Regions from separate parts of the Homo sapiens genome. Here region 1 is linked to region 2. Evidence: promoter capture Hi-C in 16 types of primary human blood cells and fetal thymus (Javierre and others, 2016). All regions are on one chromosome and are shown on one strand. The core of a region is centred on a gene start or on the middle of the fragment in contact, and the rest is flanking DNA. Distances in the headings are between cores, read along the strand shown.

Region 1 (5,167 bases), core at 1,504-4,003, 180 kb after region 2:
CGCCACCGCGCCCGGCTAATTTTTTTGTATTTTTAGTAGAGACGGGGTTTCACCTTGTTAGCCAGGATGGTCTCGATCTCCTGACCTCATGATCCACCCGCCTCGGCCTCCCAAAGTGCTGGGATTACAGGCGTGAGCCACCGCGCCCGGCCGAGGGTATCGTTTTTATTGGTTGACAGGAAAATTCAAGATTGTCTTTGATTAGTGCTTAGTTTTCTTAGCCCTTTGCAGAGAGTCACATAATTCTAATGTTTTTCTTTTATATCAAAAGAATGTTCTGAAGTCTTAATTTTGTGGGGGAAAATAATGCATGTCCTAGTTTTTCTTTACCTTTCTCTTCTTGGCAAACTATTTGTGTCTTGGATTGAGTACATCTCGTTTCTTAGGTTTTTTCCTACTATGTGACATTTGTAAGGTTCTTTCTTTTTCTAATGTGGGAAAAAAAATAACCTTAATTTAGGTCAGTGTTAAAGATCAAGATCTTGGTTTTAGCTAGCATGGTGGTTCACGCCTGTAATCCCACCTCTTCAGGAGGCTGAGGCAGGAGGATCCCTTGAGACCAGGAGTTTGAGACCAGCCTGGGTGACTCTGTCTCTACCAAAAAGAAAAAAAAGTAGCCAGATGTGTGGCGTACACCTGTAGTCCCAGCTACTCGAGAAGCTCTGATAGGAGGATTGCTTAAGTCCAGGGGTATGAGGCTGCAGTGAGATATAATTGTGTCACTGCACCCTAGCCTGGGAGACAGAATGAGACTTTTTCTCTCTCTCTCTCAAAAAAAAAAAAAGATTTTGTTTTTTCTCAGTGTTACTTGATAACTATAAACGACAGACGTTCATACAAGAGATCTTTCACCTTTACTACTTAGGAATCAAAAATTATTTTTGAAAAGATAAGAATCATTGGTAACTGCAGCAGGGGACACCAGATCTTTGGTGTTAAAAGACCTGAATAACATTCCTGTAACTATCTGTTATTTACTTGGGCCAGTTACAATCGCCATTATCTTCCAATTAAAATTAAGATTTAAAAGACTTCTCTTATCAGAGATAGGATCCCCCTCTGTTGCCCAGTCTGGAGTAAAAATCCACCTGTAACTGCTGCTTATAGAGTGTGTATCCAGGGCAACTTGAATCTATGTTCCTGGGTTGCAATCCTAAAGCTTGGCTCAAATAAGCTCTACTTATATTATTTTTTAAAACAAGACTTTCCTTATCTATCTGACTCAAATTCTAAGAAAATAATTTTATAACTTTTTTTCAAACTCTAAAGCAGCATAGTGAACACGTATTTGTTGACATCACCATTATTATAATTATTGGGTTGTTAACAATAACTAAGCACCGATGCTGTGTGCCTACTACAGTGTCTTTTGCATACTGTGTGCCTGATAGTATTTAAGAGTGAAAATGGCCGGGTGCGGTGGCTCATGCCTGTAATCCCAACACTTTGGGAGGCCAAGGCAGGCATCTCACGAAGTCAGGAGTTCGAGACCAGCCTGACCAACATGGTGAAACCCCGTCTCTACTAAAAATACAAAAATTAGCCAGGTGGGGTGGCATGGGCCTGTAATCGCAGCTACTCGGGAGGCTGAGGCAGGAGAATCGCTTGAACCCATGAGGCAGAGGTTGCAGTGAGCCAAGATCGTGCCACTGCACTCCAGTCTGGGTGACAGAGCGAGACTCTGTCTCAAAAAATAATAATGATAATTAATAAATAAAGAGTGAACATGAATTTTAAAACATGCTCGGTAGTGTCTGCTTACAGGACATATCTCTAAAAATAGATGACTGACTGGTGAATGGGAGAACAAATGTTAATGAGGTTCAAATAAAAATTTAAATATTTTAGCATTTTAACCCAGACAATAAGGCTTTCATCATATAGGAACTCTTTATTGAAATATTTCAAGAAAAAAGGGATTATCATTTAGAAGACTGATTAGTCTTATTTATTATGACTGAAATGTGCAAACAGAATCATTGTTTCATGAACAGAAAACAGCAGAGTTTTTGACTGTCAATGATGTTCGAATAGAAAATGGATCACTAAGGAGATAGGAGATTCTGTTATCGACAGTCTTCAAAAGTAAGTTGATGGCCCTGGAATGAATGGAGTACAGGGGATTCTCTAATTTGATGACTTGTTGAACTACATTATAGTCAAGATTTTTCTCCAGTCATGAGTTGGAAGATTCTACAATCTGGTGGTATTATAGAATGGATTGGCCACTTGTGCATCTGAATTTGTTATGAATGTGTAAGAAAAAAGCAATTGAGAAGATACCTTGAAAATAAATGAGAACCTCCTTTGTAACCTGACTTTGTCAGTCTTCTTAAAGATAACATTGAGTTGATGTGTTTTTAAATAAGCTGCTAAGAGTAATATGTGTTTTTCTGAACCAATATTGTGGTATTTACATTTAAGGAATTGTTATAGATTTATTTATTTCAAGTTTCCAAAGGTATATACCTAAACAAGAGATCTAATCATACACATCTTCAAAGCTCATTTTCTTGTATCTTTGTGATATAATTTGATAAAATAACAATTTTAAACAACTTGAATCTTGGATATTAGTCTCATGAGTTAGATGGGCTGTTATACATATGATTATTTCATAAACTCTGAAAGTGTGAATGTTATTTTACTATACTACCAATTTGGGATGTTAAACTACATCTTGAGCATTTGTTGTTATAGGGAAAGCTCACTAACTACTTTTCATGGAGATCAGGCTGGTTTATTTTATTCTCTTATTACCTGTGACCATTTCATTTAAACAAATAAAATATTTCTCTGATGGAAAAACTACCAACTTCTACTCTCACAAAAGTCATTCACTCATGTGGACTGACCAACTGTTAAACATCCTGGCAGTCATGGAATTTGCTAAGTTATGGCTAAATGAGGTTCTTTAATCCACCTGCAATACAGATCATTAATAATAAGATAGGCTATCTGAGGTTTTGAGAGTTCAGTATAGAATTTTGAAGCATCAGGAAAAAAAACTACCAAATTATTGTCTTATTCTTATTTTATGGTCTGTGAAAGCCTCTTTTTTTTTTTTTTTTTTTTTTTTTTTTTTGTCAGAGTCTTGCTCTGTCTCCCAGGCTGGAATGCAGTGGTGTGATCTCTGCTCACTGCAACTTCCTCCTCCTGGGTTCAAGCGATTCTCCTGCCTCAGCCTCCCAAGTAGCTGGGATTACAGGTGCATGCCACCATGCCTAGCTAATTTTCATACTTTTAGTAGAGATGGGGTTTTACCATGATGGCCAGGCTGGTCTCAAACTCCTGACCTTAAGTGATCCACCCGCCTCAGCCTCTCAAAGGGCTGGGATTACAGGCATGAGCCACTGAGCCCGGCCTGAAAGGCATTCATTTCTGATCAGGCTTCTGTTGAGGTGGCAATTGTCAAAGGGGAAGGAGTAAAATCTCAGAGGAGAAACATTGGAAGATACCTATATCTTTGCTTGAGAATGAAAATCTAAATGGAACTTCAAAGAACTGTTTTGTTGTTTGTTTTTTAGAAAAAAAAGTCCCAAAAAAGAAAAGAGAGAAGATAATCAATTCGATGCCCAGGAAGCCAAATAGACTTTACATAGAATTCTTTTTAATGCAACCAAACAAATGGTCAGGATTCTTCCCAATATCTCAGTCAACAATAATATACACTCTTTAAACTATGAAATGATTTCAATTTGATACAATGAGCTTATGTTAGATTTTATTAAACATATCTTGGCGGTCTAGTAAAGATCTTTAATATTTAATTTTATGATGTTCGATAACTTAGAAAATGTGAATGCTAGAGACAATGAAGCCATTTACTCCATAGGGTATGTATGCTTTGTGTTCGGAGTAGTCTATAATTTAATTTAACTAGCTCTTATTTCCTTTTCTCCAAAGAAGGTACCAAGACACTATAAATTAATTGAGACTTTTTTAAAACAGTAGAATAAGAAACAAATGTGAGATGAAACTATGAATTTTGAGGCATCAGGTAAAAATGGATCAAGACATTGAGAGCTATAACCTCCAAACATGAAAGTTTGTTTGAAAATATCTACAAGTGCTTACATTGTTTAATAATCATACACTTTGCTTGCCTCAACAAGAAGTTCAAAAGTACTATTAAACAAATAGAATTTAACTCCAGTTTACAGAATTCATCTATAATACCTCTATTAGTTCCTTTAAACAAAATTTATCTACTTTGTGAATGCAAAGATAACTATGGATTATTTTGATAGATCAAAACAGAATGTCCTTCAAAGTGTTCCCTGTATTCTGGAGCAATGCCACCAGAAAGCAGAAATAGGTTACTTAGGAGCCTCCCACAAAACGAAGTTAAGCTTTCTTAGTGTTAGTTCTGGATTCTCCTCCTGGTTCCACCAACTACTCTCCAGGACCTAGAAGAATTTACAAACCAAGACTGTTTCTTGCCAGGTCTTTATTCCAGAGCAGGTCATTCTCTTTTATTCTGCAACTATGTGAAAGGAGCTTTCTTTTCTTTCTGCTAGCAGAGGGTAGCCTCGGATCCATCAATAATTTAGTTTTACTCTATCAACATCAGTGGAGAGACGAGTACCTCTAAGGATCCTGTCAGGACAGTCCTGCATTTTGCTCAAATGCTGTCTAGAGATCCCTGTTTTCTCAATTACACTAGAATAGAGTAGGATGAAGATTTGAATTGCATACTAGGATGAAGACTTGAATTGAATTGCATAATGAAAAGAATCAGCCAATCCATTATCCAGTTTCTTATGAATTCACAGCCCAGTAGGATCTCTGCAGATTTCTGCCTTCTGTAGAAAATGGGTTGCTTCTATAGCTGATTGCTGCAGCCAAGACAAACAACGATTTCTTTCTTTTTTTCTCACAAGACTGGGAGTGAGAATATTTGGATTCCGACATTGTTCTACTACTATATAATCAATAATCAGGAACAAGGCAAGGCAATTCCCTCTTTCTTTCTTTCTTTCTTTCTTCTTCTTTTTTTTTTTTTTTTTTTTTTGGCAGAGTTTTGCTCTTGTTGTCCAGGCTGGAGTGCAATGGTGTGATCTCGGCTCACCACAACCTCCACCTCCCGGGTTCAAGCGATTTTCCTGCCTCAGCCTCCTGAGTAGCTGGGATTACAGGCGCGCGCCACCACGCCCGGATAATTTTG
Region 2 (4,482 bases), core at 962-3,461:
TTAAAAGGCTTTCTTTTGTTTTCTGAATTATATCTATTCCCTCCTGTTGCTTTTTGTGCTTGGCGGTAGTATTACAGTTTTGGCTTTTCTATTTCATGTTGTAGGCATTTTCTCAAATGTCTTGTTATCTTTGACTGTCTTATTATATATATGAATGGTGACACAGCAAATGCTGACAGTCAACACTTCATGAGTATTGATGACAGGGCTTCACTCTAATGTAACCATGCTAGGATAGAGCTACTACCTTGGGAAACCCCCACATATCAGTACATGTAAGTCTTTATCTGCGCCTTTCATATTCCCCAGGATAGAATTCTACAATATTCAATGTTTTGGGTGCGATGGGGAAGATGTCAGGCATATATCTTGTGTCCTACAATCTGAGAGTATCATGGCTAGGAGTCTCACAATACAGAAGGCAGTGTTTTGCCTAATCTCCCTATCTTTAGTTTCATACCTCCTACTTTCACTCAGCTCTGCCTGGGGTTTCCAAGACTGGAGATAGTATAATTTCTCCAGAATATAATCTAATTTCTCCAGAGTATAAGCTTTCCATTCTCTGGCTCTCAGTTATTTTCTTGTCTCTGTATGATGGTGAAAAGACCAGAGAATTCAACTATCCTACATACATACTTTCAACTAATAACTTCTTTTTTAAGCCCTTACTTGACTTCAGCCTTCTTATACACCTGGTTCCTCCAAGTCTGGTACCTACTAGGATTGTGTAGGGAAAACCCAGTAGTTTATTTTTAGTATCTCCAATGAAGGAACTTTATTTTAGACATTTCTTGGAACTATTGTCAATTGCTCTTTCATCTGCTTTCTATCATCAAATAATTTGTGTATTTACTTATGTATTCTTAGTCTTTGTGAATTCATACCTTTTATTACTTTTCTGTCATTTTAGAGAGGGGTTAAGAAGAAGGAAGGATAATTGTATAGTCAATCCACATACTATTCAATTTCTACTCTTCTGCACTGATAATTTTTCAACCATGTATCTAGTTCACATTTTTGTGAATGTAATTTGAAATTAGAATTTTTAAAAGCAGACTTCTTAGATGTCCTCCATTATTGAGAGTACTTTGAGATGTCTAACAGTGGATACCATTGGTAGTTTCCAAGCACCTATTCCAACTATCTCCCTCATTATGCCATGCACTTTGGCTAGGACTGAAACCACCTCAAGTTTAAGGGGCAATCTCTGCCTGGATTAAAACAAAGGGTCAAAGATGGAGTCTTTAGATTCTGGGACTATAATCTCTACCTTTAATCCTATACATCTTGAGACACTGATTTCTTCAGTAACAGGCTGAAGTGCTCTCAGTTGGTCTAATCAGAATGAAGGCTAAGATTTTGTTCTATTATTGAGGAAGAAAATATCTCTCATTCTGTCTTCTTGAGCTGAAAAACAAAGCAGATAGCCATAGATGTTGCTGGAATAAATCTTGGGAAACTGAGGGAGGGCAGTCTTAGAAATAAGCCTGCTTTAAATGAAACTAACATGCTTGTGCTTGTGTATTTATTATTTTTTGAGAAGCTGGAACTAAATCAAGGATTCTCATAATGTGTTCTACTCCCAATATCTTACTTTACTTTCTAGCAGTTCACAATTCCTTGCTACCAAGGAAATCTATATAAATGCCTTCTTGTGCTATCATAACTATCAAAGTATGTCCCATCTCATGGTTAATCCAGTTTCATATCCTCTGAGAGGACTTCTAAAATGACCCATGTATAGTTTGCCTTTTCATTACCACCTAAGGAAAGTCAAGTAGTGATAGAATTTTGTACAGCTTAAAAATATTATGGTTGTTTTATGTTTCCAGTCTTCTCAGAAAGATTACAAACCACTGGGAGCCAGGAATCACATCTTGTATTTCTGTATTCACCACAACTAAGCACGTTTGGTTGTATGGAGAAGGGGGAAAGATAAATGCTTTAAGATGAATATTAACAGCATATCAAACTAAAGAGAATATGAAATAATTATTACAGAACGTGCAATATATTTGTAATCACTTGAACACAATGAATAAAACAATATTTGTTTCCGGAGGACATATAAGTGAATGGAATTTAGGTAGCTTTCACCAAACTGTGAAAATCTATGGAGACACTTGGTGGCGCTGCAGGATAACATCGTGAAAAATATATTCACTGGATGGCGTTGTGAACACTGATATCCAGTGCACACAGAGAATCAGAAGACAGAAACAACAAGCCTTCAAGAGGGTGACCTGGAAACCATTCAACAGGGTTAAAATCCTTAGACCACAGAGGATTTGGTGGACAAGTCAGAGACGCGTTCCGCAGAGCTGAAGCCTTTCTTCAAGAAGCCTACAAGAAAGGAACTATGGAGAACCAAGGGACACGCACTCAGCAGATAAGGCAAGTCCTGCTTCTCTTTGTTTTGCTCGGAATGTCTCAGGCGGGCTCTGAAACCTGGAGCTTTTCTGTGGCAGAAGAAATGCAGAGCGGGAGTTTTGTAGGCAATCTGGCAAAGGACCTGGGGCTGAAGGTGAGAGAACTGTCCTCACGGGGGGCTCGGGTGGTCTCTAATGATAAGAAACAGCGTTTGCAGCTGGACATAAACACTGGGGATTTGCTCTTAAGTGAAACACTAGACAGGGAGGAGCTCTGCGGTTCCATCGAGCCTTGCGTGCTACATTTGCAGGTGTTAATGCAAAACCCCACGCAGTTTTTACAAATTGAGCTTCAGGTCAGGGATATAAATGATCACTCTCCCATCTTCTCGGAAAAACAAATGCTCCTAGAAATCCCAGAGAACAGTCCCGTTGGTGCTGTGTTCTTACTAGAAAGTGCGAAGGATTTAGATGTAGGAATCAATGCTGTAAAAAGCTACACAATAAGCCCCAACTCTCATTTTCACATTAAAATGAGAGTCATTCCAGACAATAGGAAATACCCCGAGTTAGTTCTGGACAAGGCGCTGGATTATGAAGAGCTCCCGGAGCTCAGTTTCATCCTCTCTGCTCTGGATGGTGGGTCCCCTCCCAGGTCTGGAACTGCCTTGGTCAGGGTGGTGGTTGTGGACATTAATGACAACTCCCCTGAATTTGAGCAGGCTTTTTATGAGGTGAAGATTCGGGAGAATAGCATCCTTGGCTCGCTGATTTTGATTGTCTCAGCTTGGGATTTAGACTCTGGAACAAATGGTGAAATATGCTATACCTTTTCCCATGCCTCAGAAGATATTCGCAAGACATTTGAAATTAATCAAAAGTCTGGAGAAATTACTTTAAGAGCACCTCTGGATTTTGAAACGATTGAGTCATACTCAATAATCATTCAAGCCACAGATGGGGGAGGACTTTTTGGAAAATCTACAGTCATAATTCACGTGATAGATGTAAATGACAATGCTCCTGAAATCACTGTGTCATCAATTACCAGTCCAATCCCAGAAAATACGCCAGAGACCGTGGTTATGGTTTTTAGTATCCAAGATATAGACTCTGGGGACAACGGAAGAATTGTTTGTTCCATTCCGGAAGACCTCCCATTCGTGCTAAAATCTTCAGTTGAGAATTACTACACGTTGGAAACAGAGAGACCACTGGACAGAGAGAGCACAGCCGAGTACAATATCACCATCACCGTCACCGACTTGGGGATACCCAGGCTGAAAACCGAGCACAACACAACTGTGTTGGTCTCTGACGTCAATGACAACGCCCCCACCTTCACCCAAACCTCCTACACCCTGTTCGTCCGCGAGAACAACAGCCCCGCCCTGCACATCGGCAGTGTCAGCGCTACAGACAGAGACTCAGGCACCAACGCCCAGGTCAACTACTCGCTACTCCCGCCCCAGGACCTGCACCTGCCCCTCGCCTCCCTGGTCTCCATCAACACAGACAACGGCCACCTGTTCGCCCTCAGGTCGCTGGACTACGAGGCCCTGCAGGCTTTCGACTTCCGCGTGGGCGCCACAGACCGCGGCTCCCCGGCTTTGAGCAGCGAGGCGCTGGTGCGCGTGCTGGTGCTGGACGCCAACGACAACTCGCCCTTCGTGCTGTACCCGCTGCAGAACGGCTCCGCGCCCTGCACCGAGCTGGTGCCCCGGGCGGCCGAGCCGGGCTACCTGGTGACCAAGGTGGTGGCGGTGGACGGCGACTCGGGCCAGAACGCCTGGCTGTCGTACCAGCTGCTCAAGGCCACGGAGCCCGGGCTATTCGGCGTGTGGGCGCACAATGGCGAGGTGCGCACCGCCAGGCTGCTGAGCGAGCGCGACGCGGCCAAGCACAGGCTGGTGGTGCTGGTCAAGGACAATGGCGAGCCTCCGCGCTCGGCCACCGCCACGCTGCAAGTGCTCCTGGTGGACGGCTTCTCCCAGCCCTACCTGCCGCTCCCTGAGGCGGCACCGGCCCAGGCCCAGGCCGACTCGCTCACCGTCTACTTGGTGGTGGCGTTGGCCTCGGTGTCTTCGCTCTTCCTCTTCTCGGTGCTCCTGTT

Evidence for each region. Contacts are between HindIII fragments. The CHiCAGO score rates a contact against its expected background, and 5 or more counts as called.
Region 1: a contact is called between a fragment that was not itself captured here and the fragment with the promoter of PCDHB11 in region 2, in 1 of 17 cell types (endothelial precursors). The highest score is 5.2, in endothelial precursors.

Annotation. Positions count from the first base shown.
Region 1 is chr5:141,376,835-141,382,001 of GRCh38, forward strand. All of the region lies in intron 1 of PCDHGA1 (protocadherin gamma subfamily A, 1), which reads left to right. All of the region lies in intron 1 of PCDHGA2 (protocadherin gamma subfamily A, 2), which reads left to right. All of the region lies in intron 1 of PCDHGA3 (protocadherin gamma subfamily A, 3), which reads left to right. The region is part of intron 1 of PCDHGB1 (protocadherin gamma subfamily B, 1); the gene reads left to right. It also overlaps PCDHGA4, PCDHGB2, PCDHGA5, PCDHGB3, PCDHGA6 and PCDHG@. Among named protein-coding and RNA genes, the nearest start is that of PCDHGA7, 3.3 kb to the right of the region's middle. The HindIII fragment of the contact is 3,193 bases long and covers 1,158-4,350 here.
Region 2 is chr5:141,197,416-141,201,897 of GRCh38, forward strand. PCDHB11 (protocadherin beta 11) reads left to right here and starts at 2,212. Exons shown (of 1, transcript NM_018931.3): 1 at 2,212-4,482. The coding sequence starts at 2,360. It also overlaps PCDHB@. The HindIII fragment of the contact is 6,869 bases long and covers 550-4,482 here.